Linked DNA regions of Homo sapiens: regions 1 and 3 are each linked to region 2. Evidence: promoter capture Hi-C in human tissues and cell types (Jung and others, 2019). All regions are on one chromosome and are shown on one strand. The core of a region is centred on a gene start or on the middle of the fragment in contact, and the rest is flanking DNA. Distances in the headings are between cores, read along the strand shown.

Region 1 (3,180 bases), core at 79-2,578, 69 kb after region 2:
ATGTGTTATTTCTTTCTTCTTTGTTGCCTGCCAAAAACAAAACTTATGGATTGACCTATGAGAGGAAAGCATGTCAGTTGCAAGCAGAGCACACCCCAGAGAGAAGGCGCACCAGGCTCCAGGCCACTCTACTATCAAAATCAAATGTTGACTTTTTAAATATTAAAGATGAAGGTTGCTATTGAATCAATATTAAAGCAGGTGGGACACCAGGATGAGGTCTCTTCCATCAAGCACTTACTTTTTATAGTTTAGTCTAAATAGTATTTGATCCTTCTGCAAAAACCTTTAGACTCCTTTGTGAATGAAACAGGTATACCATGGCTTAGTTACCCCAAATCTGGCATTTTAACATTTTGATGTAAAATGACAACAGGGGTGAGTCAAATAGAGGCCTTTAACTCAAATCTACAAAAAAGAAAAGAAAAGAAAGAAAGAAAACCATTACGATGCCTGCCTGTGAATTATGAAGGGAAATGCTGAATTTATAACCTGCAAATGCCGAATTCATAACCTGCATGTTTGCCTGCGCAAAACCAATCAGTTTATGTACATTTTCCAGTGATATGTCTATTTTTTCCTAAGTAATATGTTGGCTTGGGTCTTCCATAGGCTTAAACTCTGACAAAACACACAACATAGATTTTTGCTACGTAGGCAGGATATTAACAAGCTGCTTTAATACGGCAATTAGCTATTTTGTTTTTCCCCTCTATCTTGACTGTTCTGGAAGGGCTTAAAGTTTAAACTGTCTTTGCCCTCTATGAAAAGGAGAACTGGCTTCTGATTAATTAAAGCTCTGGGTTTGATGGTAAGAAGGATTTCTTTTTTTCACAAGAGACTTAAAAGAACAGAAATTTGTATCTCCGTTCAAAATGCAGGCAGAAAAGAGGAGGATTTGTCCCAGGCTAGAAAATATTCCCTCAGGCTGAGGTGGAGCGTGGGGAAGAAGTAGAGAGCTGCAACACTCTATAGAAGAAAGGACTGTGAAAATGTATAGGTAGAAGGCCTCATGGGTGACCTTGCCAGGACTCCTGCACCTCACATATGGCATGAAAGCCACCAAGGACACCATGAGGGGCAGTGTTCAAATGTTCACAAATGGGAAGGGAGCTGAGCACCATCCTTCATTCCTGCAAGCGTGGCCATCATTGGCCTTGCAAGCCCTGACCTGGCTGTCTACAGCCTTGCCAGCATGGGTCATGCTTCTTACATGCATGGGCAATCTACACCCAGGGATCTTGTTTGTTGCTCCTTTCATTGATATGTCATCAGCAAGCACCTCTGCAGAGGCCAGGTACCAGGACGGTTGCTTATCTGTGCCCCTAGGCTTTATGAGACCTTCTCTGAGTGGGTAGCTTTCCTCAACATTTCAGAACACCCACAGAACAACAACAAAAAACATTTAGGTGAAGCAACTTCAAATCCTTTGAGCTAGGATAAAGATTAACGATGACTCCATTATACAACTTAATTAAGAATTTATATTGGTCCCTTATAAATACACATACATTGTTTAGCAAACCTTATTTGGCGACACTGCAAAAACTGGAAACTTCTTTATTATACTTTCCTCACAGGAGAGATTTCAATAATTATTCTCACTGAACCCCTAAATAGAACATTGGAATGTTTAATACCCAGAGTCTTGAAAAGAATGAACCTCTTATTATGCCTTAAGAAATGCATTTTGTTATAGGAAACCCAGGTTCTACCTTCAACCCCCAAGTTCTCCCTTTTCAGTTAGCAAGAAATGCCAACTATGGGATGTGGAGCTCCTGAACTGTTAAATATTATAAATCAGTGTCATTATTTTGATGATTTCCAAGAGAGATGACTAAGGGAAACTGCATCAAGATACAGGAAAAGAGATACCTACTGACTGCATGAACTTATTTCCAACACATTCTCTTGCCATAATCTCCCCTCCAACCAGTTCCTAATGGTAATGCAGCACTGGGCCCTCCTTTTCATCAATGGATTACCCAGAGACAGAGTCATAGTGACCCAACTCTCTAACTCAGTTGGAGATATTTTCAGGTAATATGGCAGATTCGGCTGTGTATCCCCATCTCTTTTGGGAATACAATACATTTCCATTGCTTTGGAAATGCCATATTATCAGCATTCTCACTGGACACAAAAGAGCTAGCCAGTATCTATACTTACCCTCTCTGTGTCTTCACTGCCTACCTATGCCATCCCTTACACATACATACACCACCACTCTTTTATAAAAACCACGACAAAGTTAGGATTTTCCCATTTCCTGATAAATGATAAATTCAAAGTAAATAGTCCCATAAAGCTTTTCTTCATTCAAATTATTTGAATCTTACAGATAGGTAGAAAAAAAATCACTGTATCTGAAATAGGTTTGCTATCCCTTAGAGTTTAAACAAATAATGCAGGTATTATAAATTTCCTTCAACTCTCAAGGCAAATGTCTCCAAATATCCAGAGTCCTGACACCATCATCTTTTCATTTTCAGTGAAGAGCATGTGCAGTTTTCCCACCCCTGACGCTATAACTGGCTGGCACATAAAACCCACAGGTACCTGCAGGCAACTGATTATAAAGACACCTCCTTTCCCTAATGTATTGATTCCCACTGCAATCTGCCTGCATCTACTGTACTTCTTGGAAATTGCTCTTGCAAAGATTGCTCATGACCTTGCAGAATCAATCCAGTGAACACATTTTGGTCCTACTTTACTTGGCATCTCCCTTATGCTCTTCTTCCTCTTCTCATTTGACACACTCCCTGGGCAATCTCAGCCATACTCTGGGCTTCAGCTGTCACAAACAGAGTTAGGATTTCTTAACCTGTATTTCTAGCTCCAGCAGCCTCCTAAATATTTCTACCTGGGTGTCCCACAGGCATTTCTCACTCAACATATCCTAACCCTGTTTGAATATTTTTCATTCTCCTCTCCTTATAAACTTGCTCTTCTTGAACTCCCCACCTGGTACTGTTCATATGTCCCTTCACTGGTGGGAATAGCATGATTGGAAGAGAAAGAATGATCCCACAGGGCCAGGCATGAGCCTGGAAGAGAAGTCTATGGGGTGCAAGGTAGACACCTAAATCAGGTGCATGTGCAAAGCTAGTAATAAAATGGTAAATGAGCTCTGAATCAGAGGAACATGCACTGACTGGATGCCAGACCCAAGGGGAC
Region 2 (2,980 bases), core at 120-2,619:
GAAGATGCAAATTAATGAAACCAGCTTTTGTGCACAAATCTCTGCAGTTTCCAGTGTTTTCAGCTTTTGTCTGAGCCATTTTTGCTGTCGGCTTTGCAGACTATCTCTTTCTATAAAAGTAATCAGGCGTCCGTTGGAGAGTTGGGGTCTTTCTTCACACTAAAGGCACATGTCCCAGGCACAAGCCTCAGGATCCTTATTTGATCTTTTTTAATACGACCAGGTCTTAAATTTCCGAACCATGTTTTCCCTAATTGCCATTTTCTCTCTAAAATGAAGAAGCCTGGAAGAACCTTCTTATCCCTTCGGGGAAATTATTTAATTGGGACAAAGGGGATGTGGAGTTACAGAGAGCAACGATAGGGCTTTCAGAACCCAAAACCTGTCTGGTATAATAACAGATCCTTCCGGTAACCAACCATTCAATTTGTCCCTCTCCCCAACCCCATCCTCTCCATCACCATCTGCCAGATGCCCCCTGGGACAATCGACTTTGAAACCAAACTTCTCTCCCAGGTCAGCTCCTGCAATCCCCACTCCTCATCCTTGGAGCTTTCTCCACAGAAGTGACTTGACACACCGCGCTACATCTGGGGAGGGGGGCGGGTCCGCTTTCCGGGAGACTCAAGTCTTTGCTATTTGCCTTTTGTTTCTGGGATGCCTTTGGCTGCCTTTCTCTTCCATCTGCTTTTAATTTTGGTAAGAGAAAAGCTAATGAATCAGGAATGAATCTCCTCTCCACTAATCTTTTTTTTTTCTTTCTCTCTCTCTCTCTCTTAAAGTTGGCGCGCTCTCTTCACAAGTTCCATCACTACCCAAGAAGTGAGGGGGCGGGGGGGACAGGCGGGAAGGCATTAATTACACCTAAATCTGAAGTTTGCGGCCTCAAGTACCACTTTGATGGGGAGAGCTTCTGAAGCTTCCATACAACCTGCCGTGCCTTTGCTGCTGCCGCAGTAGATTTTCAGCTCATTTCTTTCTGCTGCTGCTTCGCGCTGCTCTGTCATGCCTAAATCTATCTCGTCACTGCCAAAGGTGCCTGAATCAGGGTGAATTCCACGAGATTCACCAGCGGTTTTGCTCCAGTCCAAGGTAAATACAGTATGCAAAATGAGGAACCACCCAAGGATGTCGGGGAGGGGGGAGAGAAAGGGATTCCCTCACCTTTTCCGGCACATTCCTCGTTAATTTCCACCAGGAGGAGGCGCGCAGCCCAGCTCCCCTAGTCTCTCTTCTTAAATCCCCCTACCTACGGCTGCCGAGGTTGGCCGCGCGTCGGGAATCTCCCCGACAGTCCTGGCCCTCCCCCGCCCCCCGGGTTGGTTTTTCCCAGCTGCGGAGGTTGGGAGGTTGGGCCAGGGGCTGGGGTGCGAAGAGAGTCGGCGCCCGCAACGCGGAGCCGGGAAGTCGTCGCTACTCTGGTGGAACTCAGAGTTGGTTCTGGAGGCGGCGGACGCGGAGGTGAGCAGTGGGAGCCCGCGGCCTGGGAGAGACCCGGGAGGCGTCGTTGGGGCCCCTCCCCATCCTCGGGTGGAGAGTAGGGTTGGTTCGGGTTGCCACTGTACCCCGAGTCCCACTGCTGCTTTGTTCCCAGACTCTCCCCTCCTCTTTGGAGATGACTTGAACCCCTTTGAGATCCGAGGGGCTGGCGGGGCGCGGGCTGGGGGGCGACAGTTGTAGCTCCACTTCCTGCTAATGCGAGAAGGTACAAAAAGAGATCAAAAAGTCCTGTAACCTGAAACTTCCCTCGCATCCTAACCGGGACCTGGTGGAGAGGTCTGGGCGGGGGCGGAGACACCCGGAGGCCGACCTTCCGCCGAGGCGGTGCAGGAAGGAACGGGAGAGGGAGAAGTTTGGTAGGGAAGGAATTGGGGATTAAGCGGTAAGTTAGACGCGGGAGACGAGTCTCCTCGGGAAAGGCGGAGGGCGGGAGGCCGGTCGGGTTTATTTAGTGTGGGCCAGGGAAGAAGGAAGACTTTGCGGTCTGGGTGTCGGATGCGCGTCCCCCTCCGGAGTAAAAGTGACCGGAGGGGTTGGGGAGGCGAGGCCGGGGCGGGCTTTTGGAAGGAGGTCTCTGGGACAGACTGGAGACGACTAGACTCGAAAAGGCCGGTTTTTGCACTCCGGAAGCCGCGGCAGCCACCGCTGTTCACGCCTCTCTCCTGCTTGTCCCAGGTCCCTCAGAGGATCCAGCGAGGGGCGCCAACAAGAGGCGAAGAGGTGGCACCAGGGCGGCGGCAGGAAGAGGAGCGGGAGCAGGAGCGCGGAGCGGAGCGTCCCGACCCGCCGTGCGTACTTTCTGGAGGGAAGGGGCGGGGGAATCGGCCCCTGAGGGAAGCGCCCGGTGGCGAGGGGGTTAGCCAAGTTCCGGCTGCGGCGCCACTCCCTCGGTTCCACGAGAGGAAAGTTTTTTTTTTCCAGACGCTTCCGCCGGCTCGCGCCCTCCGGGCCCAGCCTCCCGAGCCTTCGGAGCGGGCGCCGTCCCAGCCCAGCTCCGGGGAAACGCGAGCCGCGATGCCTGGGGGGTGCTCCCGGGGCCCCGCCGCCGGGGACGGGCGTCTGCGGCTGGCGCGACTAGCGCTGGTACTCCTGGGCTGGGTCTCCTCGTCTTCTCCCACCTCCTCGGCATCCTCCTTCTCCTCCTCGGCGCCGTTCCTGGCTTCCGCCGTGTCCGCCCAGCCCCCGCTGCCGGACCAGTGCCCCGCGCTGTGCGAGTGCTCCGAGGCAGCGCGCACAGTCAAGTGCGTTAACCGCAATCTGACCGAGGTGCCCACGGACCTGCCCGCCTACGTGCGCAACCTCTTCCTTACCGGCAACCAGCTGGCCGTGCTCCCTGCCGGCGCCTTCGCCCGCCGGCCGCCGCTGGCGGAGCTGGCCGCGCTCAACCTCAGCGGCAGCCGCCTGGACGAGGTGCGCGCGGGCGCCTTCGAGCATCTGCCCAGCCTGCGCCAGCTCGACCTCAGCCACAACCCACTGGCCG
Region 3 (2,891 bases), core at 4-2,503, 93 kb after region 2:
AAGGTAGGGATCCAATTTCATTCTTCTGCATATGGCTGCCAGTTATCCTAGCACCATTTATTGAATAGGGAGTCCTTTCCCCATTGATTATTTTTATTGGTTTTGTCAAACATCAGATGGCTGTAGGTGTGTGGCTTTATTTCTGGGCTCTCTATTCTGTTCTACTGGTCTATGTGTCCATTTTCGTACCAATATAATGCTGTTTTTATTTTTGTAACCTTACAGTATATTTTGAAGTTGGGTAATGTGATGCCTTTGGCTTTGTTATTTTTGCTTAGGATTGCTTTGGCTGTTTGGGGCTGTTTTTTGGTTCTATATGAATTTTAGAATAGATTTTCTAGTTCTGCAAAAACTGACATAGATGGCTCTTATTACTTTGAGGTATGATCCTTTGATGTGTAGTTTATTGAGGGTTTTTATCATAAAGAGATATTGGATTTTATCAAAAGTTTTTTCCACATCTATTGAGATGATCATATGTTTTTTAAAAATTCTGTTTATGTGAATCACATAAAACCTTTATCATGGTTTATTGATAAAGCTTTCAATTGTATTTTGAATTCTGTTTATGGTGAATCACATTTATTGATTTGCATATGTTGAACCAACCTTGCATGCCAGGAATGAACACTACTTGATCATGGTGAATTGATTTTTTGATGTGCTGTTGGATTCTATTTGCTAGTATTTTGCTGAGGATTCTTTCATCTACGTTCATCAGGAATATTGGAATATAGTTTTCCTTTTTCATTGTGTCTTTGCCAGATTTTGGTATTAGGGTGATGCTGTCTTTGTAGAATGAGCTAGGGAGGAGTCCCTCGTCCTCAATTTTTTTTGAATAGTTTCAGTAGAATTGGGACAAACTCTTCTTTGTATGTCTGGTAGAATTTGGCTGTGAATCCTTCTGGTCTGGGTTTTTTTTTTTTTTGGTTGGTAGGTTTTTTAAATTGCAATTCAACTTTGGAATTTGATATTGGTCTGTTCAGAGTTTCAGTTTCTTCCTGATTCAATCATGGGAGATAGTGTGTTTCCGAGAATTTATTTATTAACTCTAGATTTTCTAGATTATGTGCATAAAGGTGTTCCTAATAGTCTCTGAGGATATTTTATATTTCTGTGGGATCAGTTGTAATGTCACCTTTGTCATTTCTGATTGTGCTTATTTGGATCTTCTCTCTTTTTTTCTTTATTAATCTAGCTAGTGGTCTATCAATCTTGTTTATCCTTTCAAATGACCAATTTTTGGTTTTGTTGATTATTTTTATGGATTTTTGAGTTTCAATTTTGTTCAGGTCCACTTCGATTTTAGTCATTTCTTTTCTTCTGCTAGTGTTGGGGTTTGTTTCTGCTTTTCTAGTTCCTCTGGCAGTGATGTTAGATCATTAATTTGAGATCTAACTTTTTTTTTCTTTTTTTTTTTAAGACAGAGTCTCGCTCTGTTGCCCAGGCCAGAGTGCAGTGGCACAATCTTGGCTCACTGCAAGCTCTATCTCCTGGGTTCACGCCATTCTCCTGCCTCAGCCTCCTGAGTAGCTGGTACTACAGGTGCCTGCTACCATGCCTGGCTAATTTTTTGTATTTTTTTTTTTTTTTAGTAGAGATGGGGTTTCACCGTGTTAGCCAGGATGGTCTCGATCTCCTGACCTTGTGATCCGCCCACCTCAGCCTCCCAAAGTGCTGGGATTACAGGTGTGAGCCACCGCGCCTGGCCGAGATCTAATGTTTAGACATAGGCATTTAGTGGAATAAACTTTCCTCTTAACCCTGTTTTTACTGCATTCCAGAGATTTTGGTATGTTGTGTCTCTGTTTTCATTTATTTCAAAGAATTAATTTTCTTGTTTGCCCAAAAGTCATTCAGGAGCAAGTTAAGTGTATTTTTGTTGTAGCAGGTATCATTCTTTCATTTAATTTCCATCTAATTGTGTGGTTTTGAGAGACCTTCTTGGTATTGATTTCTATTTTTATTCCACTGTGTTCTGAGATTATCGTTGTTGTGTTTTCAATTTTTTAAATTTGTTGAAACTTGCTTTATGGCTGGGTATGTAGTCAATCTTAGAGTATTTTCCATGTGCAGATGAGAAGAATGTATATTGTATAGTTAATGGTGGAGTATTCTGTAGATGTCTGCTAGGCCTAGTTGGTCAAGTGTTGAGTTTTTAAGTCCAGAATGTCTTTGTTAGTTTTCTGCCTAAATGATCTGTCTAATGCTGTCAATGGGGTATGAAAGTCCCCTGCTATTACTGTGTGGCTATATAAGTCTTTCCATAAGTCTAGAGGTATTTGCTTTAGTAATCTGGATGCTCCATTGTTGGGTGCATATATATTTAGGATAGTTAAGATTTCTTGCTGAATTGAACCCTTTATCATTGTGTAATACCCTTCTTTGTTTTTTTCTACTGTTGTTGGTTTAAAGTCTGTCTTATCTGATGTAAGAATAGTCACCTCTGCTCCTTTTTGTTTTCTGTTTGCATAGTAGATCTTTCTCCAACTCTTTAAGCTCATGGGTTTTTTTTTTTTTTATGTGTGAGATAGGTTTCTTGAAGACACCAGATAGATAGTTCTTACATTTTGTTTTTAATCAAACTTGCCACTCTGTGCCTTTTAAGTGAGGTGTTTAAACCATTTACATTCAAAGTTAATACTGAAATGTGACATTTGATCCTATCATGAAGTTCCTAGCTGGTTGCTTTGTAGTTTATATTGTGTGGCTGCTTTATAGGGTCTGTGGGCTATGTATTCAAGTGTGTTTTCATGGTAGGAGGTATCATTCTTTCATTTCCATGTTTAGAATTCCCTAAAGGATCTCTTGTAAGGCCAGTCTAGTGGTAAATAATTCCCTTAGTGCTTGTTTGTCCAGAATATATTTTATTCCCCTTTGCTTATGAAGCT

The links. Contacts are between HindIII fragments. The study calls those that stand out against the background at their distance.
Region 1: a fragment that was not itself captured here is called in contact with the fragment with the promoter of TPBG in region 2 in 3 of the 25 tissues and cell types used here (dorsolateral prefrontal cortex, hippocampus and spleen).
Region 3: a contact is called between a fragment that was not itself captured here and the fragment with the promoter of TPBG in region 2, in 2 of the 25 tissues and cell types used here (H1 embryonic stem cells and aorta).

Annotation. Positions count from the first base shown.
Region 1 is chr6:82,431,593-82,434,772 of GRCh38, forward strand. No RefSeq gene overlaps it. Among named protein-coding and RNA genes, the nearest start is that of TPBG, 69 kb to the left of the region's middle. The HindIII fragment of the contact is 7,212 bases long and covers 1-3,180 here.
Region 2 is chr6:82,362,448-82,365,427 of GRCh38, forward strand. It overlaps TPBG (trophoblast glycoprotein), which reads left to right and starts at 1,370. Exons shown (of 2, transcript NM_001376922.1): 1 at 1,370-1,461; 2 at 2,176-2,980. The coding sequence starts at 2,515. LOC105377875 (a long non-coding RNA gene) reads right to left here and starts at 1,210. Exons shown (of 3, transcript XR_942738.4): 1 at 1,165-1,210. RefSeq lists enhancers at 803-1,316, 1,317-1,828, 1,980-2,882, 2,883-2,980 and a silencer at 2,851-2,930. The HindIII fragment of the contact is 6,837 bases long and covers 1-2,374 here.
Region 3 is chr6:82,455,104-82,457,994 of GRCh38, forward strand. No RefSeq gene overlaps it. Among named protein-coding and RNA genes, the nearest start is that of TPBG, 93 kb to the left of the region's middle. The HindIII fragment of the contact is 4,770 bases long and covers 1-2,891 here.